7 separate regions of the Homo sapiens genome follow, and regions 1, 2, 3, 4, 5 and 7 are each linked to region 6. The links are contacts of gene promoters, found by promoter capture Hi-C in blood cells and fetal thymus (Javierre and others, 2016). All regions are on one chromosome and are shown on one strand. The core of a region is centred on a gene start or on the middle of the fragment in contact, and the rest is flanking DNA. Distances in the headings are between cores, read along the strand shown.

The links. Contacts are between HindIII fragments. The CHiCAGO score rates a contact against its expected background, and 5 or more counts as called.
Region 1: a contact is called between a fragment that was not itself captured here and the fragment with the promoter of CD48 in region 6, in 11 of 17 cell types (fetal thymus, naive CD4 T cells, total B cells and 8 more). The highest score is 17.8, in fetal thymus.
Region 2: a contact is called between a fragment that was not itself captured here and the fragment with the promoter of CD48 in region 6, in 1 of 17 cell types (activated CD4 T cells). The highest score is 5.8, in activated CD4 T cells.
Region 3: a contact is called between a fragment that was not itself captured here and the fragment with the promoter of CD48 in region 6, in 10 of 17 cell types (total B cells, naive CD4 T cells, non-activated CD4 T cells and 7 more). The highest score is 8.2, in total B cells.
Region 4: the fragment with the promoter of PPOX here is called in contact with the fragment with the promoter of CD48 in region 6 in 1 of 17 cell types (erythroblasts); the score reaches 5.5 in erythroblasts.
Region 5: a fragment that was not itself captured here is called in contact with the fragment with the promoter of CD48 in region 6 in 1 of 17 cell types (naive CD8 T cells); the score reaches 5.2 in naive CD8 T cells.
Region 7: a fragment that was not itself captured here is called in contact with the fragment with the promoter of CD48 in region 6 in 9 of 17 cell types (naive B cells, total CD8 T cells, activated CD4 T cells and 6 more); the score reaches 9.1 in naive B cells.

Annotation. Positions count from the first base shown.
Region 1 is chr1:161,041,469-161,044,954 of GRCh38, reverse strand. It overlaps USF1 (upstream transcription factor 1), which reads left to right. Exons shown (of 11, transcript NM_007122.5): 2 at 1,595-1,687; 3 at 2,073-2,122; 4 at 2,285-2,400; 5 at 2,738-2,839; 6 at 3,109-3,304. The coding sequence starts at 1,680. Among named protein-coding and RNA genes, the nearest start is that of USF1, 2.8 kb to the left of the region's middle. RefSeq lists enhancers at 1-178, 3,039-3,198. The HindIII fragment of the contact is 2,818 bases long and covers 1-2,659 here.
Region 2 is chr1:160,346,085-160,349,753 of GRCh38, reverse strand. NCSTN (nicastrin) reads right to left here. Exons shown (of 17, transcript NM_015331.3): 3 at 632-755; 4 at 84-205. Among named protein-coding and RNA genes, the nearest start is that of NCSTN, 4.5 kb to the right of the region's middle. RefSeq lists an enhancer at 2,887-2,936. The HindIII fragment of the contact is 5,933 bases long and covers 1-3,669 here.
Region 3 is chr1:161,090,687-161,094,280 of GRCh38, reverse strand. It overlaps NECTIN4-AS1 (NECTIN4 antisense RNA 1), which reads right to left. Exons shown (of 4, transcript NR_183641.1): 4 at 3,549-3,594. Among named protein-coding and RNA genes, the nearest start is that of NECTIN4, 2.9 kb to the right of the region's middle. RefSeq lists an enhancer at 1,406-1,505. The HindIII fragment of the contact is 3,929 bases long and covers 1-3,318 here.
Region 4 is chr1:161,164,397-161,168,278 of GRCh38, reverse strand. PPOX (protoporphyrinogen oxidase) reads right to left here and starts at 1,853. Exons shown (of 13, transcript NM_001122764.3): 1 at 1,607-1,853; 2 at 1,345-1,439; 3 at 1,045-1,179; 4 at 793-908; 5 at 152-284. The coding sequence starts at 1,431. It overlaps USP21 (ubiquitin specific peptidase 21), which reads right to left. Exons shown (of 14, transcript NM_001014443.3): 11 at 3,667-3,745; 12 at 3,337-3,444; 13 at 3,136-3,250; 14 at 2,556-2,922. The coding sequence ends at 2,832. RefSeq lists an enhancer at 135-798. The HindIII fragment of the contact is 28,112 bases long and covers 1-2,102 here.
Region 5 is chr1:161,062,538-161,066,195 of GRCh38, reverse strand. The region is part of intron 1 of ARHGAP30 (Rho GTPase activating protein 30); the gene reads left to right. Among named protein-coding and RNA genes, the nearest start is that of ARHGAP30, 5.5 kb to the left of the region's middle. The HindIII fragment of the contact is 5,541 bases long and covers 1-3,658 here.
Region 6 is chr1:160,710,394-160,714,116 of GRCh38, reverse strand. CD48 (CD48 molecule) reads left to right here and starts at 2,295. Exons shown (of 4, transcript NM_001778.4): 1 at 2,295-2,435. The coding sequence starts at 2,354. RefSeq lists enhancers at 1,267-1,326, 1,867-2,046. The HindIII fragment of the contact is 2,140 bases long and covers 781-2,920 here.
Region 7 is chr1:161,124,786-161,128,706 of GRCh38, reverse strand. The region is part of intron 2 of DEDD (death effector domain containing); the gene reads left to right. It also overlaps a transcript of NIT1 not described here. Among named protein-coding and RNA genes, the nearest start is that of DEDD, 5.9 kb to the left of the region's middle. The HindIII fragment of the contact is 1,588 bases long and covers 1,299-2,886 here.

The DNA of each region.
Region 1 (3,486 bases), core at 1-2,500, 330 kb before region 6:
TTTCCGAGGCTTATCCATTGAAAATTTTCCTTGGATAGGAAAGGTTTGGAGGACCTTATGGGTAGAGAATTTCCAAAAATCTTGCCCCTTTTGTGTTGGGATTATCTTATTGCTTTGTACTGTGTAGCTGTTTCTTTCTGGAGGCATGTCTGCCCAGCTCTTTGTTTTTCCTGCCCTCTGGCTGGGTGTCAGGGTCCTAAGGCAGAGCTTGTAGGTGGATTCTTCCCCCTTTGTCTCTTCTTCAGAACCCTGTTTTTTTTTTTTTTACCCCTTCTTGCTCAGGCTTAGTTGATTTGGAGTTGTCATAGCAACATTTTAGCAACAGTGTTGTTCTGCAGGAAGGCTTGATGAATAAAATAGAGAATGCTTGAAGAGGATCCACTTGGGCTTTAGGGTTTCTAACAGATTATATAAATCTGGATACCCCAAAACAAGAGTCCTGTCAGTAGAATGGGGCCCAAATGCCAAGTCTAGTCTTTGTGGTCAGGGATATTCTTCCAGTGGTAGTGGGCTTCAGATTTCCTCTTCCTAGGTTTGAAAACAGAAATGTCTTGATGGACAACATGTGGCTGAGAAACTGGAAGAAGCATCAGTGTCCATGACACTGTATTTTTTGATGGTGGGGCCAATACATGGCCCTTCCTGATTCCCATGAAGCTGCCATCATGGCAGGTCATAATAGCTTTAATGATCCATTTAGAGATGTGTTGTTGGCTGGGTGCGGTGGCTCATGCCTGTAATCCAAGCACTTTGGGAGGCCGAGGCAGGCGGATCACCTGAGGTCAGGAGTTCCAGACCAGCCTGGCCAATATGGTAAAACCCCATCTCTACTGAAAATACAAAAATTAGCTGGGCGTGGTGGTGGGCACCTATAATCCCAGCTATTCAGGAGGCTGAGGCAGGAGAATCACTTGAACCCAGGAGATGGAGGTTGTAAGCCGAGATTGTGCCACTGCACTCCAGCCTGGGTGACAGAGCAAGATTCTGTCTCAGAAAAAAAAAAAAAAAAAAGAAAGAAATGTGTTGTTTCGGCCAGGTGCAGTGGCTCACACCTGTAATCCCAGCACTTTGGGAGGCTGCCGAGGTGGACAGATCATGCTCTCAGGAGTTCGAGACCAGCCGGGCCAACATGGTGAAACCCCGTCTCTACTAAAAATACAAAAATTAGCCAGGCGTGGTGGTGTGCACCTGTAATCCCAGCTACTCCGGAGGCTGAGGCAGGAGAATCACTTGAACCTGGGAGGCAGAGGTTGCAGTGAGCTGAGATCGCGCCACTGCACTCCAGCCTGGGTGACAGAGAGAGACTCTGTCTCAAAAAAAAAAAAAAAAAAAAAGTGTTGTTTCTGTCTTCCAGTATAATTATCCACTCTCCACCAGGAGTTGGAGTGATAATGGAGGGATGGGGAACACTATTTGTAGCCTTGCTTTTTCAATCACTGTAGGCCAGTCCTCAACATCAGTATGGTGGAGGCTGATTGTCCCCTGCAGATGACTGGGTTATTTTCCTGGCTATGTGTTCATGGAACCTAAGTTCTAGAACCAGAGATACTGTTCTGTTTCCTAAACTCATTGCAAACTTCATGATTTCTACCAGGACTTAGCACTCAGGCCTGTGAATCAGGAGATACAAAGACCTCCAAAAAAGGACCAGTTCCTCGGATGTGCCCCCTCACAGAGAGATGAAGGGGTGAGTGAAGAAGAGGTAGGGTCTGGGATGAAAGATGGGTGGCCTGGAAGAATGCAAAATGACCAAGAGCACTGCCTCTGGAGTCAGGCAGACCTGGATTCAGGTTCTACTCTATCACTTACTGTGTGATTTGGTTTCTCTATCTATAAAATGGAAGTAGTGCTATCTATCTCGTGGTGCTGTTTTTAGTACTAAATAAGATTACATGTAATGTACTTAGCTTAGTGCTTATGTACATAGTAAACAGTAAACACTAGTTGTTATTCTAACCTAACCCAGCTTCTGTTGGGAATGCCAATGAGTTTGCAGCCATATGTTACTGGGCCAGTGAGCTTCTCATTGACTTCTTCTCATACTCTTCCTTTTGTCCTTTCACCACAAACAGGCAGCAGAAAACAGCTGAAACGGAAGAGGGGACAGTGCAGATTCAGGAAGGTGAGTGCTAGAAACAGAACCAAGACTAAGAACCCATCATGGCCTCCCTTCCTTCCCCACCAGACCATCTCCTGTGCATCCTCCTCCTTCCGTGACATGCAAATGGAACGGGGGTAGAAAGGCAGTTAACTCACAGACTTTTCCTTTGTTCTTTTAATTCAGGTGCAGTGGCTACTGGGGAAGACCCAACCAGTGTGGCTATTGCCAGCATCCAGTCAGCTGCCACCTTCCCTGACCCCAACGTCAAGTACGTCTTCCGAACTGAGAATGGGGGCCAGGTAAGGGAGGGGGCCAGGTGGCTGCAGGTGTTATCTGGGGTTGGGATTGAGGGAGGTAATTGAACATGTCTTGGGGAGACCTGGCTTGGAGGATGAGTTGAAAGAGTGGACTGTTGCAGGGGAGGGAGGTGCTAATACTGGAGTAGAGACTGGTGTGAGGTTAGATGTATGCTGAAACCTCTGTGTGGGGAAAGAAGGGAGAATGGCTGAATCCATGTCTCTGAAGGACTTTGTTTTGGGGCCCTATCCAAGGGAAGCTTTATGAGGGGCCCTAGGATTCCCAACACTTAATCTTTTCTTCTCTCTTCACTCCCTCTGCCTTCCTCTACACTTCTAGGTGATGTACAGGGTGATCCAGGTGTCTGAGGGGCAGCTGGATGGCCAAACTGAGGGAACTGGCGCCATCAGTGGCTACCCTGCCACTCAATCCATGACCCAGGTACAGGGTATGGGCTGGGGAGGTCACTAGAGTTCTGAGAAGTAAGATGAAGAAGGGAATCAGTAGGATGGGGGTGAAGCTAGGAACAGTGAGGCATCTAAGGCTGCCTTGTCCCAAAGCACTAGGCTCTCCTTTTCTGGATGTTTCTCTCTCTCTCTCTCTCTCTCTCCACCCTACCTACCACCCCAACGGATAGAAGCTGCAGAGTGGTGTAGTGGGAAGAAGTTTTTGACTGTTACCAGAATCAGTTTTCTTGCTCCCCTTCCCAGGCGGTGATCCAGGGTGCTTTCACCAGTGATGATGCAGTTGACACGGAGGGGACAGCTGCTGAGACGCACTATACTTACTTCCCCAGCACGGCAGTGGGAGATGGGGCAGGGGGTACCACATCGGGGAGTACAGCTGCTGTTGTTACTACCCAGGGCTCAGAGGCACTGCTGGGGCAGGCGACCCCTCCTGGCACTGGTGAGATATTGCATGAGGATGCTGGCTGAAAGGGCTAGAATAGGCTGTGGGACATGACTGGTAGGCAGTGAGCCTTCACTCATGACTCTTAGTGATCATTAAGACCTGGACAGGCAGTGAGTCTGGGGCTGCTCTTCTATTAGCATGTTCTTTTTAGAGGAGGGGACCAGGGTCTTCACCTC
Region 2 (3,669 bases), core at 522-3,021, 360 kb after region 6:
TACATCCCTCACAAAGACGTAAGACCGAAGCAACAGTGAGCCTTAGGTGACAGTAGGCTCTCCTGATCCTTTGGGACACTTACCAAACCCATCATTTGGGCACTGTACACTAGGAGAGAAGCCTGAGGCAGGACTGGGCTTGGTCAAGGACACTGCAAGACCAGCAATTCGGCTGGTTCTCCCTTTCAGCTTCTCCATTAAATCCCTGGAATAGGAAAGGAATTCCATGAAGGAACACAGGAAGGTATCAGACAGCCTGACATTCTGCCTGCAGGATGGAAACAAATGGGGAACTAGGGGAATCAAACTGTTGACTTATTTCTTCCCTTTCAGTCTCTAAATTCTGAGTCTGGACAATGATCTGCTCTAAAAAGTAGAGCTTTAGTGAGTAAGGACCCCAGGGAGGGAGGGGAGGGATGCCCAGGGTTACTCAGGGACAGGTAGGTGAAATTTAGCCCTAAGCTCAAGATCATTTCTTTTGATGGTACACCTTTCCTTCTGAGGACCACCCTGCCCTCTCCCCTGACCAGACCAGGGCAGCCAAGGGAAGTTTTCACTAATAAGTGTGAGGACTGTTCACTGAAACTTTCCCTCTATGGATGTTTTCCCAGCAGATACATCTAGTTCTTACCTGGTAAAATGCTTGCTCTCCAGCAGAACCATGTAAGGGGGGTTGGGGCCATCAGTCAATACCCACTGTAGGTCCTCCTCTTTCTCTACTACGTGGATAACCCCTGTGTCTCCACTAATTGAAGCTGCCAGGACAGAATGAGTCAAATTAAAGCTCCCATAGTTAACAATTCTGACTTTGCCTCACTGATTCTGCGTATCTTTTATCCCCTAAAGATGTCACAACATATTTGGGTGAATACAGGCACCTCTAGATTTGAACTGAAAAGCTGTTGCCCCAGCTCCATCTGAAGGTTATCAGGAGGGAATGGAATATAAAAGAGCACAAGAGGACTCATTATATGCCAGAAAGGTTCTGTGAACTTCATTTTTTTGCCCTCTGCCCTCAACCTTATTTAGCCATATACATAAGATTCTACAACAATAGACACCAAAGTTTTCAAACCTATATTTTCTCTAGGAAATGCCACTAAATCTCTAGCTCAGGGTTTTAGCTTTGAATCTTCCTTTGTAAAAACACATGCATACATGCCCTTGGCCTCAGGAGCTTTCCTGGATCGTCATTCCTTTTGCCCTTTTTGGGAATGACTTTACTTGCTTCTGGCCGGTTTTAGATGAGGTTAGTCAAGAACTCTGAGGTTTCTAAAACAGAGCTTCCCAATTGATAAGCCTCGAATGGATCAGAGATGTGCTCTCATTGGTTCTCCTCATTCCAGGAAACCTAGGGTTTCCAAAGTCACCTCCAGCCAGGAGCCTACTTATCATTTACCCCAGGATGCCCTGAAAATATCACCCATTTCTCTATGTGCCAGGATGCTATACAAATAACATTTTCTATGTGTCTCATGACATGATAAAGATTGGGAAGCACTGTATTAGAGGATGGATGACCCAGAGTCCAGAATACTTTGAATTCTACATAATTCAAGGCATTAGGTAATACTCCTTAAGTCCCCAGTGATCTGTGTGGAGATATCCTAGGGTCTCCCTGTGAGTCTTCTCCCTACAGAAAATTGGATATGTTATTCATCAATTATTTTAGACCAGTAGTTCTCAGCCCTGGCTGTATATCAGCATCACTTTAAATGCCCACTCAGCCTCCCAAAGTGCTAGGGTTACAGGAGTGAGCCACCATGCCCGGCCCTTGCCACAGCATTTAAAACATGGGAAAAGGAACAGATAGTGTGGCAACTAAAACATATATAACTTCGGCCGGGCACAGTGGCTCATGCCTGTAATCCCAGTACTTTGGGAGGCCGAAGTGGGTGGGTGGATCACTTGAGGTCAGGAGTTTGAGACCAGCCTGGCCAACATGGCGAAACCCCATCTCTACTAAAAATACAAAAATTAGCCAAGTGTGATGGTGCACACCTGTAATGCTAGCTACTCAGAAGGCTGAGGCAGGAGAATTGCTTGAACCTGGGAGGCGGAGGCTGCAGTGAGCTGAGATTGTGCCACAGCACTCCAGCCTGGGTGACATAGTGAGACTCTGACACACACACACACACACCCCAAAACTTCAACTCCAGCGAGGACAGGAAGACAAACTATGATACTGGACTGAAAAAAACCTGGATTCTAATCTGGGTTCCAACTAGTAATGGTGTAGTCTTAAGTAACTTGCTTATTTTCTCTGCGCCTTCAATGAGGTTTTCTACCTCTATTCATCTCATACTGTGGGGACAGACGAAAGAAGGAAGAAAGGATAGAAGGAGGGAGGGAGGGAAAAGAAACCTATTTAAAGCCCCCTTTGAGAACTTTAAAGCGTCTAAGAGAAGCAGAGTATTATAATCAGAAATCAAATCTGGGTATCACTTTTTTCTCCTTAGTTTTATCATGTTAGCTACACTAATTAAAAAGGGCGGAGCCTGCTCAGAAAAGACAGATATGACGAAGTAAGATTTGGAAATAAGTAGGTTGAAAAGGAACCAAGATCTTAATGAGGAAGTGGCCACAGTCCCGCTTACCCCCTCTTGTTTCTCTGTACTGGCACGTGGCTTTACCTCTAGAGGCTTTGCTTCCTACAGAGCTGTTTTAAGAACATAGAGTAGAATGACTTATTCCCAAAGGAGTTTTCTTAGAGCCTAGTTACAAGAGGTTGGGGTCCTGGCCTTCTGTACTTTATAGTGAGGTTCCAGCAAGACCAGCAGTCTGATCTCAGCCCACCCTGGACCTAGCTCTCTTCTACCTACAAACCAGTTCAGAAACTAAGTCCAGAGGGCTGGGCATGGTGGCTCATGCCTGTAATCCCAGCACTTTGGGAGGCCAAGGCGGGCAGATCACGAGGTCAGGGGTTCGAGACCAGCCTGGCCAACATGGTGAAGCCCCGCCTCTACTAAAGATACAAAAAATTAGCTGGGCACGGTGGCACGCGCCTGTAATCCCAGCTATTCAAGAAGCTGAGACAGGAGAATTGCTTTAACCTGGGAGGAGGAAGTTGCAGTGAGCTGAGATTGTGCCATTGCACTCCAGCCTGGGCGAGAGGGCGAGACTGCATCTCAAAAAAAAAAAAAAGAAACTAAGTACAACAAAAACTTTATTTGGGGCTGTTTGGAACCAGTCAACCTACTCCCAGTGCTTTGTATAGCAGGGACATGGGACAATTAACAGATACTATAGCTCAGGGAAAGATGGCTAAAAAAGTAGTAACTGCTTCCACGAACAAGTCCTTCACTTCTCAGTGTCCCAGTTTTCTCTTATCAAATGGGAAGAAGGCTTCAGGAAATTATACAGCACTTTTGAGACCACCCTATTTACCTAGCGTCATCAATAAACAACTATTAAGAGGTATTTGACTTTCAGCTTTATGCAAGTACTCCAACCATTATTCCAGGGGTAAACTGAAATTCAGAGGTGATCAATTTGATGATGAAGAAGCCAGTATCAGACCCCAAGTTTCCTGCTTATCTGCAAAACTACATTCTGACAGAGCTATTGTCCATGGGAAACAAAATCTGAAGACAGCAGGTTAGCCTTTAGATTACTACTTTTCCTGCCCTATGATTTTGATAGTTTTTAAAGCCACAGTGTCATGGAACC
Region 3 (3,594 bases), core at 105-2,604, 380 kb before region 6:
ATTTTTAAACTACAGTGATGCAAAAATGATAGCGTGTTCGGTAGGACCCATACTTGAATTTTAAATTTTGATATTTTCTAGGGCTAGCGACTGGTATATTAAATGCATTTTCAACTTATATGTTCAGTTTGCAATGGGCTTATCAGGACATAACCCCATCATAAAAGTCAAGGAGCATTTGTATATTTTTCTGTCTTTAAGTTTCCATTTTTCTCACTGTGCCTTGAGATCTGTCTCTCACTGTTTCGACTTTTGTGTTTTTCTCTCTGGGTTACTGCCCTTTTTTTCCTGCTGACCAGAGCCAGCCATCTGACTTTCCTGCAAGGAGCTTTAGAACTTTCCAGAAGTGGCCAGACTTCTTCCCTTTGGCTGCTTTCTAGAACTATAGCACCAGTTTGGGGTCCCCGGGCACAGTCATAAGGTCTCAATTTTTGATGAAGACCTGAGTGAGCTTCAATACATAGGGCCTTTTCAGGGAGTAGAATTTCCCCACAGTGGGGTCTTAGTGTCAAAATAAAGATATTTGTCCCTTAACCCATACTGTGGTCCTGGATTTCATGGTAGTGTGTTCATGGAAACTTGCGAAGTTCATGGGTTGAGAGCAAGGAGGATGGGGCTCTGCACACAACTGGACCTACCGAGAAACGGGACCTGAACATGTCTTGCATTTAGCTGCCTCCTCCCCTGGATGGCACACTCCAGCTTTAGGGCCCTCGAGGAACAAGCAAATTCAGCCCCCTGATCTCCAAGGGTTGTTAGGCAACCAAGAAATGTGGTTATCATTAAAGGATGGGGCTGGGGGCTGGGTATTGGGGAATCGGTGGGCCTGCAGGATAGGCAAAGAACAACATAGCACATGGCAATGTTTTGATGTAATTTTCTAGAAAACAGGAGGCCACCATCCTAATATTGAGCATAGTGAAGTTCCATCAGGAGGGGAGTAAAGGTGTTTTCTAGGGGAAGAAAAGCTGCTGGAGCCCCTGTGTTCTGTATGGGGGTATGCCCATACCTCCCGGGATGGAGCAGGGGTGATCCTAGGGAGGAGCAGGAGGAGTGACTTTGAAGCCTTGGTCCTGGGGGGTGAGATCAAGGCCCATATTGGTAATCTTTCACCACGTCATCAGCTCCCCAACACCTTTCTGTACAAACTGCGGAAAGTTTGCAATGAGCAGATCAGGAATAGCTTATCACAGAGACAAAGCTGTACAGAAATGGATCACAAATATTTTATCCACTCTCATGCTTCCAACTAGTTCCACTCTGATTTATTTTTCACCCTCCTCTCTCCCTAAGCACAAGGGACTCTCCCCCAGCCTCTGACTCTTCTCTGACCTGGGACTTCACTGCAGGCAGACAGGATATTACTCACCAAGGAGCTCTCTCATCTACTCCTACCCCCAACTCATCCTCCTGCACCCCACTCTCACTCCCACCCCTTCCAACCTGGGCCCACTCCTTCCCTCCCCCACTCAATCTGACCCTCACTCTCACTCTTCTTCTCCCCCACACCACCCCACCCATCCTTGTCCCTCTCTGACTCACCTCAAGTCCCATTGACACAAACAAAAATTTCAGCACAACCCACTCCAACCGGTTTGGCTGAGGCGTGCAGCCTGTCATGGGGACAGAGACAGGTATAAGCGGATGCTTGGATGCATGCAGATCATGAAGAACATCCGCTGCTGTGCATACAGAGACAGTCCCACATATGTGCATAGCATGTATGTGTACAGAGATACGTAGGGAACACATGATGGTGGGATATAGCATGTTACAGTTGTTTCTGTGTCTGCCTCTCCTGATTGAAGGCTCCTTGAGGGCAGGGACTATGTGTTATGTGTCTCGGTCTCCTCCCTTGAGCCTGACACATAGTGGCACTCATTTAATGTCTGTTGAAGGAATGCATGGGTGCAGGCGCGCACGCAGCAATGTCACTCAGACAAACACACATGATAAAGACACTATCATGGCTTGAATTGTTCTCATTCTTAGCGACCACAATGTGGGTAGGAGGAGGGTAGGAGTGAGGCATGTGGGGAATGGGAATTCAATATGGAAGGGAGAACCGAACCAGGATACCAGGCATTGGTCTTGAAAATCTTCCTCATCCAATATTTCCTTCCAGTCTCAATCCTAGAATATGCCTTCCCCAGCCTTCATCCTAGGAGAGGGTAGGAAAGGCCTAAGTTTGAGGGCATATTCTCCAAAAGCATGGCTCTTGTGAGACATACAGGGCTGAGGGGAAGGAGGGGACAGAGGGACTTGAGATAGGTATTTGTGAAATGAGGAGAGAGATCCCTAACTCTGTCAAAGGCCTGGAGTGGGCTGCTGGACTCTAGTGCTCCCTCTCAGGCCCTGTGGTGCCCTTAGCCTACTTCAAGGCTGCATCATACCCATGAAAAAATGAGTATAGCCATACCCTAACTCCACCTCTGGACAGTTCTGCCTCCTTTCCATGCTCCGTATGGCTAGAGTTCAGGGTGAGTGATTAAGGGGCCCAACCAGGGGTTCAGAGACATCCTGACTGGTAGCACTTTCACGGGGTATACTGTGAATGGATAGGCTGAAGGAGATTGGATATCCATCTTGTGAACTAACTGCTTTTCCACTCCTGTGCCTCAGTTTCTCCTGTGGCTTCCTGTACCTGGAGGGGTGAATCCGTGGGAAGGAAAGCAGCTCCTCCGAAAGCATGCGATAGGATCCAAGGTGTGATAATTATAATTATAACACAGGATGCTCCCCCTCCCATTCCCGCTGGCCCTACTCCACCCCTGCCACAGAGGATCTCAAAGCAGCATCTGGGTGGGGCTGTTCCCCTGGCACAGGTGGGGACCTGAAAAAGAGAAGGGGTTGGAGGTGGAGAGAAACTGGGGAATTCTGGCAACCGGCCTGGCCTTTAAGGGCCTCTGACCTGCAGGAAATAGCCCCTGAAGAAGAGGTCACTGCCGTGGTCATTTGGCATCTAGAGCCAGAGTTGGGGTCATAGTCCAGTGACAGGAGTAAAGTCCAGGTCACAACCCTAGTTCAGGATAGTAACTCACAGCCAGTCGGGATCTCTGCTTTACTGATCCGACTTCACCATCCTTTTCATCCGGACAACTCATTTATTCAGAAATTCATGGCTTCACCAAAATGTAGTCAGTTCCCATGAAATGCTGTGGCCTGTCCTAGCATGGAAGACTGAGACAAGATTATAAAACAAGCCCAACTTTCAAGGAGTTCACAGGCTACAACTCTTGTCCTGTCCCGCAATTTAATACATTTACTGAATTCCTGGCACACAGCAGGCCTCAATCGATGTTTTTTTGACTTGAAGCTTACAATTTAGTTAAGGAGATAAGATGTGCACAAATTATGAGCACATAAGCTATAATAAAAGGACTAGCAAAGGCTGAGGAAGAATAGAAGAAAGATTAATTTGGGGTGGGAGGAGCAGAGAAGGCTTCACGAAGATGTGGCATTTGAGGTCAGCTTTGAAAGATGAATAAGAGTTTGACAGGTAGAGTTGGTGGGGATGGTGGTGGTAGAAAATCTACACAGAACAACTCTTCCTTATGGCTTCTTTATTCCTCCTTTCTGCCTTCTCCAGATGGA
Region 4 (3,882 bases), core at 604-3,103, 450 kb before region 6:
AATGAGTTTTGGGAATTATGAGGGGGTGGGGTATGAAGAGAAGAGGGCATCCCCAAATGATACAGAAGAGCCCCTAGGTGGTAGATTTGAACAGGGAGCTCTGCAGCTGGTTTAGGAGGGAAGAGGTTTGGGGCCTCTGGGCAAGTGTCACCTCAGGTCCAAGGCGGCGCTGGGCAAAACTGTGCACAGTCTCATCAGGCTCTTTGCCCCGGGGCTTGGTCAGCTCCCTCAGCCCAGCCCAAAACAGAGGTTTGGAGAAGGGGGGTGAAGGGCGGAGTAGCCCCCTGCATGGAGAAAGGCATAGTGAGGGGGAAGCTCCTGACATACCTCCCCAGCTCCAGGCGCTGGGGTCATTTCCACTCATTTGGCTTCCTTTTGCTGGGAAGGCTGACAGGGAGATGAAGAAATGGAAGGCAGGTCGGGCGTGGTGGCTCACGCCTGTAATCCCAGCACTTTGGCAGGCCGAGGCGGGCGGATCACAAGGTCAGGAGTTCAAGACCAGCCTGGCCAATATGGTGAAACCCCATCTCTACTAAAAATACAAAAACTAGCCAGACGTGGTGGTAGGCACCTGTAGTCCCAGCTACTCGGGAGGCTGAGGCAGGAGAATCGCTTGAACCCGAAAGGCGGAAGTTGCAGTGAGCCAAGATCGCGCCATTGCACTCCATCCTGGGCGAGAGCGATACTCCGTCTCAAAAAAAAAAAAAAAAAAAAAAAAAAAGAAAAGAAGAAAGAAATGGAAGGCATATGAGGATGAGGGCACAGTAAAAGGAGCGGAGGTGCTGGTGTTACCTGAGGCCAGTGGGTAGGGCATGCAGGGCACCGCCCACGTAGAGGAACCTGTTCTGGGCAGCTGGGTGGTCTCCCCGGACAGGCAGCACTTCTGAATCCAAGCCAAGCTCAGAAACCTGCTCTCCACATGCCCTCAGAAGAGGAGAAACTAAGGGAAGATCTGACCCACCAAACATACTTCCTCCCCTAAACTCTATTCCCCAATGGAAGCCCCCTCCACAACCTCTCCTAGACATCCCACAAGCCTCTCACCAGGAGCAAGGTCCGGGCCCCTAGGGCTCCCGCTGGCCTAATTCCCCGAGGTCCAAGCTCAAAGATAGCACCATTAGGGCCTCGAACGGAGCGAATCCAGCCTCCCAGACGCTCACTGCTCTCCACTAGGACCACCTGGCGACAAGAGGGAGAGACACTGCAGCACCGCCTGTAGCCGCCGGCGAGAGGTCAGGAGGGGAGGGGAAGAGGCATATTCAGAGGGCCAGGATCCATCTAGCTTTTGATGGAAATGGGAAGAGCATTAAATGAAGCTCCCTCTGGCACAAGTGGAGCACTCACCTTAGGGGGGCAGGGGGCCCGGCTCAGGTGGTAACTGGCGGCCAAGCCGCTGATGCCTCCGCCCAGCACGACCACGGTCCGGCCCATGCGGAAACCTGGGGGAAAGGGGGCGATATGGACAGGCAGACCGGGGACAACCTGCGCTCCAGAAGCCCCGCCGGTTTTGAGTTCTATCCCGGCCACTCACTGCTTTAGGGGAAACTAAGTGTGCACGGATGGGCTGGTGGAACAGCGAGGTCCCCGTCCAGGGGCCAGGACTCACCCACAATAGGTAGGGATGAGAGAAAATGAGGGAGAAGGAGATCGAGGTCCTAAGACCGTACCCCGCCGGCGCTCTGCTGGGTGCAGATAAGGGCCACACCCTCGCTATCGGCCCTCGCAGGGCTCGGGCGGCGGGCAGTACGCCTGAGTTCTGAGGTGCTCTGCTTGCCACACCTCTGTAGGCCAACAAGTGCTTCAAATCCGCTACTCCCACCCCCAGCCTTTTCGGTCTCTCCTACGCTCCGTCCACTCTGTTCTCGCGGCACGCGCCTAACCCTACCTCTCCTACATCTGGATTGGCGGGACTTGGAAGGCCCCGGATCACGTTCACCAATAAAACATTGAACTGGCAGAGGCGGAGCGACGGCAGCTGTAAGAGCTGGAGGTTAACCGTGTTAGCGCCGAGCTGGGAGTGAGCGGCCGTACCCGTCACTGCCCTCCTCAGGACCGAGGCGGCGAGCGCTTAATGCTGGAGTTAGCGTTCCCCAGCACAAGCTTACCAGGTCCAGCTAGGGTGACAACCCTAGAGGGAAGGCCGCAGGAGCTTTGGTCGTAGGGAGAATAGATAGGGACACTTAAGGCCAGTCCACGGGGAGGCGGCTCCATAAACAGCTCCTTGATGTTAGCAACAGACCGGGCCTACGGGAGCTAGGGCCGCCCGGCAACGTACCCAGTGTTTGTCAACAGTGGCACTCCCCCATCGCCGACCAAACCAGTCGCCCCAGAGCCTGCACGCAGCCTCACTCAAGTATGCCTTTCCTCTTTTCCTCCCAGTACATAACCTTCACTGCTGGGGGACACAGGTCCGGGTCCAGCACCATCCCCGAAACCTTCCCCCTCGGCTCTGAGAGCGCCCCCACCTGTTAGAGAGGGAACTTGGGTCCCAAGAAGACTCCAATTTGGCTCAGTTCTCTATCACCCCCTAAGCAAAAATACAAATAAGCACATCATTTTTTCTTAATAAATTTATTCACAAAAAGTGATATTGCAGAGGGTCTGGGGGCTGTACATGGGCAGGGGCTTGGTGAGCTTTGTACATGGGGCTGGGAGACAAGGGAGCCTCCAGGTGGAAGGGTATTTTTTAATAAAAAAAATAATGGAGCTACAACCACCCCCTCCCCCCTCCCCGATTAAAAAGACACAAAAATAGACGTCTCTGAGGTAAACGGGGAGCCTGGGGCTTAAGGGTGTTTAAAGGGCTTCACAGGTGCCAGAGCTTAGAGGTGTCACAGGCACCGGGGTGGCTCCTGCATCAGTTGGTAGAACAGCACGTAGCCCTCGCTGGATGCCACCTGGTTTTCACTGACAGGGGAGACACTAGGAAAAAAGGAGATCGGGAAAGGGTTGTGGTCATTCCTGTTTACTCCCTTCTCCCTACAAGACCGAACCTCAGAGCATCCAGGAAATGATCAGGCAAGACCTCCACCTCTCCTTTCACCTGGCACTCTGCTCTCCTGGAGCTTCATAGAAGGGGAGGGTGTCAGGGCTGAGTGGGAATGGGGCAGGATGTAAATAGGAGGCTATTCTCACCGAGAGTCATTGTAGACATGCCAACCAGTCTGGCACCGGCACAGGGCTGTGTAGTGGCCATAGTGGACGCTGCCTGAGTGGTTGCAAAGGGCATACAGCTGGTATACAGGACTTCCTGCGGGGTTGGAGATGATCAAGTTCTATAATCAGAGCTGTGCCCCCACTCCTTTGGCTCCTTAGGACTTTCCCCACCAGACTCACCGGCTTTGTCACTGGCAAAGTCCCCTAGGCTCAGTCGCTGCAGTGGAAAGTCTACACCTACTGAACTTTTTTTGATGGAGCCTCGGGAGGCAGAAAATCGATTCAGATCTAAGCCCTGGTTAAGGAGCATTTGGGAGGCAGTGGGCCTCTGAGGGGAACTTCTTCTATCCTGAAAGCTGTCCTCTCCCCACTCCCGACACACTGGGAGCATCTTGTGGAAAAGTGGGTGGCAGACTTTTCCTAAGGAAAATTCAATTCTCTGGAAACATGGAGGAAAGAGAATGTATGGGAGGTATCCTAAGAGAAGTAAGAATCTGAAGATTAGGATATGGAGCACGAGGATTCGAGGGAATCTTTGTACTGTCAACTTTTTGGTACTTCGAGTTTTCTGCCGACATCGGTCACACACCTGAATAAATGGCAAACAGTGTTAGGTTAATATGCTCCTAACCTCAATTGGCTTTTCTGACACCCCGATCCACATACAAATTTAGTATGCTCTTCATTACAGCTGGATCCTCTTGGCTTCTCCCCTTTGCTCTAGGA
Region 5 (3,658 bases), core at 463-2,962, 350 kb before region 6:
GTCGTATGAGGAGAGTTGAAAGATTTTGGTTGGCTGAGCATGGTGGCTCACGCCTGTAATCCCAGCACTTTGGGAGGCCAAGGCGGGTGGATCACTTGAGGTCAGGAGTTTGAGGCCAGCCTGGCCAACATGGTGAGATTCCGTCTCTACTAAAAATACAAAAATTAGCTGGACATGGTGGTGTGCGCCTGTAGTCCCAGCTACTCGGGAGGCTGAGGCTTCAGTGAGCCAAGACTGCACCACTGCACTCCAGCCTGGGCAACAAAGTGAGACTCTGTCTCAAATAAATAAATAAATAAATAAATAAATAAATAAATAAATAAATAAGGGGCCGGGTGCAGTGGCTCACGCCTGTAATCCCAACACTTTGGGAAGCCAAGGTGGGTGGATCACCTGAGGTCGGGAGTTTGAGACCAGCCTGACCAACATGGAGAAACTCTGTCTCTACTAGAAATATAAAAATTAGCCGGGCAGAGTGGTGGGTGCCTGTAATCCTAGCTACTTGGGAGGCTGAGGCAGGAGAATCTCTTGAATCTGGGAGGCGGAGGTTGCAGTGAACTGAGATCGCGCCATTGCACTCTCCAGCCTGGGCAACAAGAGTGAAACTCCGTCTCAGAAAAAAAAAGAAAAGAAAAAAGAAAAAAGAAAAAGAAAAAAGAAAAAGGAAAGATTGGGATTGATGAATTTATTGATTATTTTCTTCATTCCATATTTCTGTCATACTTTATTCAACAAAGAGCTTGGAATGACTTTCAAAACCTAAAACTTTACAAAAAATTAGAATAAATGATTGAAGGAATTGGGTTGAAGGAAAAACAAGAGGAAGAGAAAGATCAGCACCCAGAAATGCATATTACATTGTTCTGTATGGTTCTTAGAGGTGGGCTCTGAGCTTCCTAGTGGTTAAAGAGGTAAACATAGGCCAGGCCCAGTGGCTCACGCCTGTAATCCCAGCACTTTAGGAGGCCGAGGCAGGCAGATCACTTGTGGTCAGGAGTTCGAGGCCAGCCTGGCCAACATGGTGAGACCCCATCCCTACTAAATAACATAAAAATTAGCAGGGCATGGTGGCGTGCACCTGTAGTCCTGGCTACTCAGGAGGCTGAGGCACCAGAACTGCTTGAATGCACCCCAACTCAAAATAAATAAATAAATAAACATAATCAAGTGCAAGACTCATGGGCCCATAAGGAAAAAAAGTTAGATGGTTTAGGAGAACCACAGCTTTTTCCCCCTTCCCTTCCCTTCTTCCCTTCCCTTCCCTTCCTTTCCTTTTCTCTTCCTTCCCTCCCTCCCTTCCTTCCTCTCTCTTTTCTCTCCTTCCTCTCCTTCCTCTCCTTCCTTTCCTTTCTTTCTTTCTTTCTCTTTCTTTCTTTCTTTCTTTCTTTCTTTCTTTCTTTCTTTCTTTCTTTCTTTTTCTTTCTTTCTTTCTTTCTCTTTCTTTCTTGTCTTACTCTGTTGCCGAGGCTGGTGTGCAATGGTGCCATCATCACTCACTGCAGCCTCAAACTCCTGGGCTCAAGCAATCTCCTGCTTTAGCCTCCTGAGTAGCTGGGACTACAGGTGTGAGCCACCATGCCCTGCTAATTTTTTGTTTTTTGTAGAGATGAGGTCTTGCTATGCTACCCAGGCTGTTCTTGAACTCCTGATCTCAAGTGATCTACCTGCCTTGACCTCCCAAACTGTTGGGATTACAGGCATGAGCTGCCATGCCAAACACAGCTTTTTCTGACACTGATATGTGAGACGAATTGCTCTGATGAGTCCTAGTTAATAGAACCCAGTATTCTGTCACTGGCAATATTCTCTGTTAAATCTCCAAGGGATGTTATTGATTCTCATAATTGATTAATTCACTGAGTCATTTCATACCGGGGGAACTGCCCCGATAATCATGTAGGTTCTTTCCTATTTTCCTAAGCGTCGGCTGGCTTGAGAAATAAAAGGACAGAGTACAAAAGAGAGAAATGTTAAACCTGGGCATCCAGGGGAGACATCACACATTGGTAGGATCCGTGATGCCCCACAAGCCACAAAAACCAGCAAGTTTTTATTAGAGAGTTTCAAAAGGGGAGGGAGTATACAAATAGGTATGGGTGACAGACATCAAGTACTTAACAGGGTAACAGAATATCACAAGGCAAGTGGAGGCAGGGTGAGATCACAGGACCAAAGGACCAAAGCGAAATTAAAATTGCTAATGAAGTTTTGGGCACCACTGTCATTGATAACATCTTATCAGGAGACAGGTTTTGAGATCAACCGGTCTGACCAAAATTTATTAGGCGAGAGTTTCCTCTTCCTAATAAGCCTGGGAGTGCTATGGGAGACTGGAGTTTATTTCACCTCTGCAATCTGGACCATAAGAGACAGGTACGCCCCGGTGGGGGGGGCGTTCAGAGACCTACCCCTAGGTGCGCATTCTCTTTCTCAGGGATATCCCATGCTGAGAAAAAGAATTCAGCGATATTTCTCCCATTTGCTTTTGAAAGAAGAGAAATATGGCTCTGTTCTGCCCGGTTCACCGGCAGTCAGAGTTTAAGGTTATCTCTCTTATTCCCTGAACAATTGATGTTATCCTGTTCTTTTTTCAGGGTGCCCACATTTCATATTGCTCAAAAACACATGCTGTACAATTTGTGTAGTTAACGCAATTATTACGGGGTCCTGAGACGATATACATCCTTCTTGGCTGACAGGATTAAGAGACTAAAGTAAAGACAGGCATAGGAAATCACAAGGGTATTGATTGGGGAAGTGATAAGTGTCCATGAAATCTTTACAATTTATGTTTAGAGATTGCAGTAAAGACAGGCATAAGAAATTACAAAAGTATTAATTTGGGGAACTAATAAATGTCCATAAAATCTTCACAATCCACGTTCTTCTGCCATGGCTTCAGCCGGTCCCTCCATTTGGGGTCCCTGACTTCCCACAACAATTTCACAAACATTCATTGAGCATCTGCTCTGTTTCAACATTGTGCCAGATGCTGGGAGGATGTTATTATATGTCAGGAGGTATCAATACAAAATAAACTAATCATAACAAACTGCAAGAAGTGCTATAATACAAACATGAATGGCTGGGCGCAGTGGCTCACGCCTGTAATCCCAGCACTTTGAGAGGCTGAGGTGGGCAGATCACCTGAGGTCGGGAGTTCGAGACAGCCTGACCAACATGGGGAAACACCGACTCTACTAAAAATACAAAATTAGCTGGGCACGGTGGCACATGCCTGTAATCCCAGCTACTAGGGAGGCTGAGGCAGGAGAATCGCTTGAACCTGGGAGGCGGAGGTTGTGGTGAGCCGAGATTGTGCCACTGCACTCCAGCCTGGGCAACAAGAGCGAAACTCCGTCTCAAAAAAAAAAGAACAAAGACTGTGGCGAATTATAATATAGATATAAGAAAAAGGTTTGGAATTGGAGGTTATGTTTAAGATGTGCTTTTTTTCTTTTTTTTTTGACACGGAATCTCACTCTGTCCCCCAGGCTGGAGTGCAGTGGTGCAATCTCAGCTCACTGCAACAACTACCTCCCAGATTCAAGCAATTCTTCTGCCTCAGCCACCCAAGTAGCTGGGACTACAGACACATGCCACCACATCAGGCTAATTTTTATATTTTTAGTAGAGACGGGGTTTTGCTATGTTGGCC
Region 6 (3,723 bases), core at 1,046-3,545:
TCACAGCACTCCCCGTCCTGCCACTGACTGAGTGTGGATCCTATGGCTCAGGAGTTCAAGACTGGCCTGGGCAACATGGTGAGACCTCATCTCTACAAAAAATTTTAAAAAAATAGCCATGCATAGTGGTCACTGTACTCCAGACTGGGTGACAGAGTGGGAGCCTGTGCCCCCCTCCCCCCAAAAAAGAGAATGTAACATTAATTTACAGGGTCTCTTTTAAAAATCTAATACAATGTTATCTTTTCTTGCTGAAGGAGCAGGGTCGTATCCTAAGGTTAAATCAATTTATAGGAAAAATATAACACACAGTTCCAAAGTGTAACAATTTGACCAAGAGGAATTTGATTCTGGTGCTGTTTCAAATTTTATTTGCAGGGTTCTTTCTTTTCACTTTTATGTTTTTTTCCCTTTTATTTTTAGTTGACATATAATAATTATACATATTTATGGGATACAGAGTAATATTTTGATACATGTATTCAATGTGTGATGATCAAATCAAAGCAATTAGGATACCTATCACCTCAAACATTGATCATTTCTTTGTGTTGGGAACATTCCAAATCCTCTCTTCTAGCTTTTTGAACATATACATTAAATTATTCTTAACTGTATTCACTCCATAGTGCTACAGGATGCTGGAACTTATTCCTCTTCTCTAGCTGTAACTTTGTATCTATTAACCAACTTCTTCCCATCCTCCACTTCCCTCTACCCTTCCCAGCCTCTGATAACCACAATTTTACTCTCTACTTCTATGAGCTCATTTTTTAAGCTTCCATATATGATTGGGAACGTGGTTTTTTATCTTTCTGTGCATGACTTATTTCACTTAACATAATGTCCTTCAGGTTTGAGGACTGAGAAGAGCAGACATTTTATTGTTCATCTCCATGTTGAGAATCAGAAATGTCCCCAATTAAAAAGTGATTACAAATATGTTATATCAGGAACTGTGGCTTGCCTGTGGGTCCTGGGTGGGCAAATAACTAATTTACATTCAATAGGAATGAGCTTGAAATTTCCTAGACATGATATGATTTGGCTGTGTTCCCTTCCAAATCTCATCTTGAATTGTAGTTCCCATAATCCCCACATATCATGGGAGCAACCCAGTAGGAAGTAAGTTAATCATACGAGCAGTTACCATCATGCTGTTCTCGTGATAGTGAGTTCTCACTAGATCTGATGGTTTCATAAGGAAGGGGCTTTCCCCATTGCTGCTCAGTGCTTCTCTTTCCTGCCACCGTGTGAAGAAGGACGTATTGGCTTCCCCTTGCACCATGATTGTAGGTTTCCTGAGGCTTCCCAAGCCATGCTGAACTAGAAGTCAATTTAACCACTTTCCTGGCCAGGCACAGGCCCATGCCTATAATCCCAGCACTTTGGGAGGCTGAGGCAGGTGGATCACTTGAGGTCAGGAGTTCAAGACCAGCCGGGCCAACATGGTGAAACCCTACTAAAAATACAAAAATTAGCTGGGCATGGTGGTGCTTGCCTGTAATCCCAGCTATGTAGGAGGCTGAGGCAGGAGAGTTGCTTGAACCTGTCAGGTGGAGGTTGCAGTGAGCTGAGATTGCACTGCTGCACTCCAGTCTGGGCTACAGAGTGAGACTGCATCTCAAAAAAAAAAAAAACCAAAACAAACAAAACAAAACAAAACCCCTCTCTTTCCTTTATAAATTACCCAGTCTGGGGTATGTCTTTATTAGCAGTGTGAGAACAGACTAATACAGACTACAAGGGTGGGAAATCCATTCTTTTGGGCCAAGTAATCTTACTTTTTTTCTGATGTTCAGTGGATAGGCTGATGTCAAACTTCAAATAGTGAATTATCATAAAGGAAGAAGAGCAGAGGGTGGTGCTGGGGGTAAGATATGCAGCACAAAGGCTACGTGGGTCTGATTTCCCAGACTTCAGGCTCTGAATGACACCTACCCAGGCTTGACTGGGAAGCTCCTATGTCTTAGCCCCTGAATTAATCAGAGGGATTCCTGCCTGGGAACGAAAAGCAGACATTCTCTATCAGGGTCCCTTATTCTTTTCTGAGTACTGGCCCCCCTGAGAGTACAGTAGAAGCTATGAATCTTCCCCCTACAAAAAAGCACTCATGTACCTTCAAACAAAATTGTTCTCAGTTTCCGTGATGCTCTTAGATAAAAAAATTTACAAGACCTCCGGTTTCTGGTTTCTGGGGCCCCACACAAGTGTGCTGGGTGGAGAGAAAATCTCAGTGGTTTTTTTTTTTTTCTCTCTAACCCTGTTTGGTAAGTTCCGTTTTTAGCCCCGGCCTTTTTCTAGCCAGGCTCTCAACTGTCTCCTGCGTTGCTGGGAAGTTCTGGAAGGAAGCATGTGCTCCAGAGGTTGGGATTCGTGTCTGGCTCTGGAATTGCTACTGCTGCCTCTGTCACTCCTGGTGACCAGCATTCAAGGTACTTTCCACCAACTGTGTATCTGTGATTGTGCACTGAAGGCATGGTCAGTTGGGAAAGGGGAGACGGGATGTAGTTCAACCCTAGAAGCCAGATCTGGTGTCTGGAAAGCAGGTATTTCCATTCCAATAGCATGGCCATGGCATGGTTGGGGAGCCTTTCTTAGCACTGATGAATGGAGCTTCATCTCCTTTCCCACGGGGATGTGATCAAAACAGGAACCTGGGGAGCAAGAGAAGTAGGCTCCTCATATTTTGTCCCGTGGTTGGTGGTCCATGAAGTTGTGGAAAAGTGTTTGTTTTTTCATTTTGAATAAGAAGAAGCTCTACACTGACAGCTGCTGCATTTTATGCTCAGACACACTGTACTCCCTTAGGCATTCTTTGAGACCTCTGTATATGTGAGGTGTTGCATCCTGAGCCAAGGTAAATGATATTGTCATTGACCCAAAGAAAAGATAGATCAAAATTATAGGAAGAAAAGCTTGGAAAGGATTGCTGTCTGGGGTCTCTGAATGAGGGTCTGAGAAGAGGCTGGAAGTGCTTCAGCATCAAAGGAACCTTAACACATCTGATTGCTAAGAGTTAAGGTCCATTCCTCTGCCACAGCCTGTTCGGTCCCCGGTGTGTGACCAAGGGCTGAGCTAACTTTCCTTCTCCTGTTAGAGCTGCCTCACCCTCTTTCTTCATCCAGTACCTCTCTTCTTATGCCAGCTGAGAAACAGCAGTGAAACCTTTGACTTTCTTGCTATTCCCCCAAGTAAATACTCAAGTCTTTTTAATTTAAAGGGCTTTAATGCTCACCACTCTGAGTAAAACAGTAAAAATCAACAAACATGTGGTAGTCACACTGTGGCATAAAATGATGATAGTTTGTAACTTTTGGGGAGATGAGGTAGAATGTGTGGAGGATCGGTCTCTCACATATTCTACCTCTCAGGTAGAGTCCTTTGGTTCATGACTGTGTGAGTCTACGGCTATATAGGTTCTGTGGGCCTGACTCAATGCATAGGACATTGGTATGACCTTGGGATTGGGGGCTGATGTGAAGTATTCATCTAACTATTGGGAAAAGCAGGGTTGCCAATGAGAATTGGAATATTTTAGGACTTTCTCTAGGCATACTGAAAACATCCTGACAGTTGACCTTTCTCTGACTTCTTTTCTAGGCTTCATCTTGGTCATTTATTCTTCTTTGAAACAATCAGACCACACCTGATTATGTTATCCTTTGAATGGATAATATTGGTTTTGATGAGGTTAGTAAACCTGGGTTATAACACCCGGGC
Region 7 (3,921 bases), core at 843-3,342, 410 kb before region 6:
CCTAGAATAGGGTTTCTCATCCTTGGCATTATTGACATTTTGTGCTGCATGATTCTTTGTTGTGGCAGACTGTTCTGTGCATTACAGGATGTTTCTTTTTTCTTTTGAGACAGGGTTTCACTCTGTCACCTGGGCTGGACTGCAGTGGCGCTATCACATCCCACTGCAGCTTCGACCTCCCAGGCTCAAGCGATTCTTCTACCTTAGCCTCCCAAGTAGCTGGGATCACAGGTGCATGCCACCACGCCAGGCTAATTTTTATATTTTGCATAGAGATGGGGTTTCACCATGTTGTCCAAGCTGATCTCAAACTCCTGGGCTCAAGTGTTCCTCCCACCTTGGCCTCTCAAAGTGCAGGGATTACAGACGGGAGCCACTGCACCTGTCCTATAGGATGTTTCTAAATATCCCTGGCTTCTACTCATTACATGCTGATGGCAGTCCCCTTCCCCACCAGGCATAATAATCAGAAATGTCTCCAGACATTGCCACATATTCCCCAGGGGTCAAATTTGCCCCTGGTTCAGAACCACTGACCTAAAAGCTATTATAATTCCTAGTACATTGATGATCTAGCCTGGGATCTAGGACTTAAAGGTGGCTAGTGTGTTTGTTTCCTCTCAAATGTAGGGAGTTAACTTCAAAGGATTGAAGCTTATAGAATTACATCCATTGATACATAATTAGGACCACAGTGCTTTCCTGTATTTTGCCTTATTTTCCATTGCGAGGGTATGTGGGGACAGTGTTTCTTCATTTCCTGGGGTTTAAGCACACTTTAAATTAGGGAACTGTGGAGCAACCAGCTCTTCTGGTTGGTTTAATGTGAAACCTACCCAATCTGCTTTATCTGAGAGCCTCACAATCAACAGCTGGCCCAAGGGAACAGGTGGGATAGGGAACAAAGAGAAGTTGCAGGGGCTCTGAGGAGGCTCAGTTTTCTCATGTTGCCTGCTATGAGCAATAACTTATTTTCCTTTAGCACCTTCATTTGTACCCAGTAACAGCAACAGGTGAATCGAGAGGAAGAGGCAAGGAATACCAGTCTATAGTTGAATAGCTATTTCCCATGCTTTGGGTGGGGCATCTGGGCTCTCAAAACTATATATGGATTACATTTCCTGTCTACATATCAGAACCCATGGTATAGGGTTAAGTGATCCCAGAGTGTACCTCCCCTTTTCTTAAGGGAATGAGTTTCTCTGTGCTTTCATTTTAGTTTTTCATCTGAGGAAGAAAGGACCAGTTCCTACTTACTCTTCAGCTTTCTCTATCAGCTTTGTTTTTCCAAAGAAGCTTATTATTTTATTGTTTCCTAGTCTAGCCTCAGTTCCTTTTTGTATAAAATGGACAGAGCAACCTGTTTAATTGTTGAGTAGGGTAGAGTGGTGTGGTATGGTGTGGGTAGTTCTGGACATTGCAGAGGAGGCTATGGCTAGTTAGAATATATGCATGGTAACTGAATTACCTGTATCTGTTTTTAATGGGGTCCTCTCTTGGACTTTTGTGAATTTGTTTCTTAATTGGAATTGCTTGAGGTGATCTCTTGGAGATTAAGTTCAGTTCAACAGTGGGTTGCTCCCACTATATTTGAGGCTCTGTCCATTACTAGGCACTAGGGATATAAAGATGAATATATCTCTCCATGAGTTGAGTAGGATCTAATGGGATAATAAATACACAAATAATTTTAGTACATGGTGATAAATGGTGTAAAGGAGATATGCATAGTGTTCCATAAGCGCACAGAAGAGGACTACTTATCTCTGCATGGGGGTGTAGAAAATGCATTTTGAAGATGGCATCTGAGCTGACTCTTAAAGAATGAGTAGGAGTTAGCCATCTGAAAAAGAGTGATGATGGGGGTGTGGAATAGAGAAGGGAGAGGGGCATTCAGGCAAAGAGAAGAGCCTGAAGAAGGTATAGAGAAATTGCATGATGTATGTGAACTATAAACAAACTGATAATGTTAGAGAATAAAAAGCGGATGTGATGGGAAATGAGGTTGGGAAGGTAGGCCTGATCTTAGAAGGCTTGATGTGTGTGTAAAGAATTTGGAGTGTTCGGCCAGGCGTGGTGGCTCACACCTGTAATCTCAGCACTTTCGGAGGCCGAGGCAGGCGGATCACAAGGTCAGGAGTTCGAGACCAGTCTGGCCAATATGGTGAAACCCCGTCTCTACTAAAAATACAAAAAGTAGCTGGGCGTGGTGGTGGGTGCCTGTAGTCCCAGCTACTCGGGAAGCTGAGGCAGGAGAATCGCTTGAACCTGGGAGGCGGAGGTTGCAGTGAGCCAAGATCGCGCCACTGCACTGCAGCCTGGGCGACAGAGTGACTCTGTCTCAAAAAAAAAAAAAAAAAAAAGAGTTTGGAGTGTTCTTATAGATAACGATGGGGCAATCAATGGGTCTGAAGCAGGAAAGTGACTTGGTCAGTTGTGGACTTCAGACAGCTAACTGAACTAGATGTGGCAGTGGATGGATTTAGGTAGGTTAAGATTGGTGTTGCAGAGAACTTTTAAAGTTACAGTAGTCCAGGTGAGAGATTATTGTAATCTGAACCATGGCAGTGGAGGTGGAAAGGTAGGATAGATTTAAGAAATATCTAGAAGTAGCATTAACAGGAATTTAGGATTGATTGTGTGATTGGAGAGTGTGACCAGAGAGTGCACAGTATAGGATGGTACTGTCTGGTGGAGCAGTAAGTATGAGTGACTTGAGTCAAAGTTGTTGAATTTGGGAATTGATTAATGGCTGCGTCATTGGTATTACCTGTAGCCCATAACGATGGAGGAACTTTGTGAATCAAGAGCCAAACTATATAACGAATGTGGAGCTGTGATTGGTCATTGATAGGGGATTGGTAAATGACATCCATGAGGAAAGCTTAGAAGGTGGTATTGCCAAGGCCAGGTACGGTGGCTCACGCCTGTAATCCCAGCACTTTGGGAGGCCGAGGTGGGTGGATCACCTGAGGTCAGGAGTTCAAGACCAGCCTGACCATCATGGTAAAAACCCATCTCTACTAAAAATACAAAAATTAGCAAGACGTGGTGGTGCGTGCCTGTAATCCCAGCTACTTGGGAGGCTGAGGCACGAGAATTGCTTGAACCTGGGAGGCGGAGGTTGCAGTGAGCCGAGATTGCACCACTGCACTCCAGCCTGGGTGACAAAGTGAGACTCCATCTCAAAAAAAAAAAGTTGATATTGCCAAATAGGGTGAAGATCAAGGGAGTACAAATGGCATAGAATTACAAGAATGCTTATTGTAGAAACTTAATGTTTATTTTAAATCCATGAGTTTTGGTAAATATTGATAAACTTTCTGAGCAGTTATCATTTCTTGATGTGGTTGGATTGTAGGAAAAATGTGGAGGGATGATTCTGGGCTGCAAAGGCCAAGGATGCTTGTATCTTTGAAATGTTTCACAACCATTTATATAAGGGTTACCCGTGATTTTCTCATTGGATTCTTAACAACTCTGAGGTGTATATTCATTCATCCCTGTTTATAGATGACAGCACTGAGAATCTGGAGTTAAGTGACTTGCTTACGGTCACACAGCTACACAGCCTTTCAGTGATACAGTCAGAATTTAAACTAGTTCTTTTTTTTCCGAGATGGGGGACTCACTCTGTCACCCAGGCTACAGTGCAGGATTATGGCTCACTGCAGCCTTGAACTCCTGGGCTCAAGTGATCCTCCTGCCTCAGCCTCCTGAGTAGCAGGGACTACAGGCACATGCCACCATGCCTTGCTAATTTTTTTCTTTTTTGTAGAGATGGGGTCTTGCTATGTTGACCAGGCTGATCTTGAACTCCTGGCCTCAAGCCTTCCTCCCACCTCAGCCTCCTGTGCAGCTGGGACTACAGGCGTGTACCACCAAGCCCAGCTAATTTTTTCTTTTTTTGTAGAAACGGGT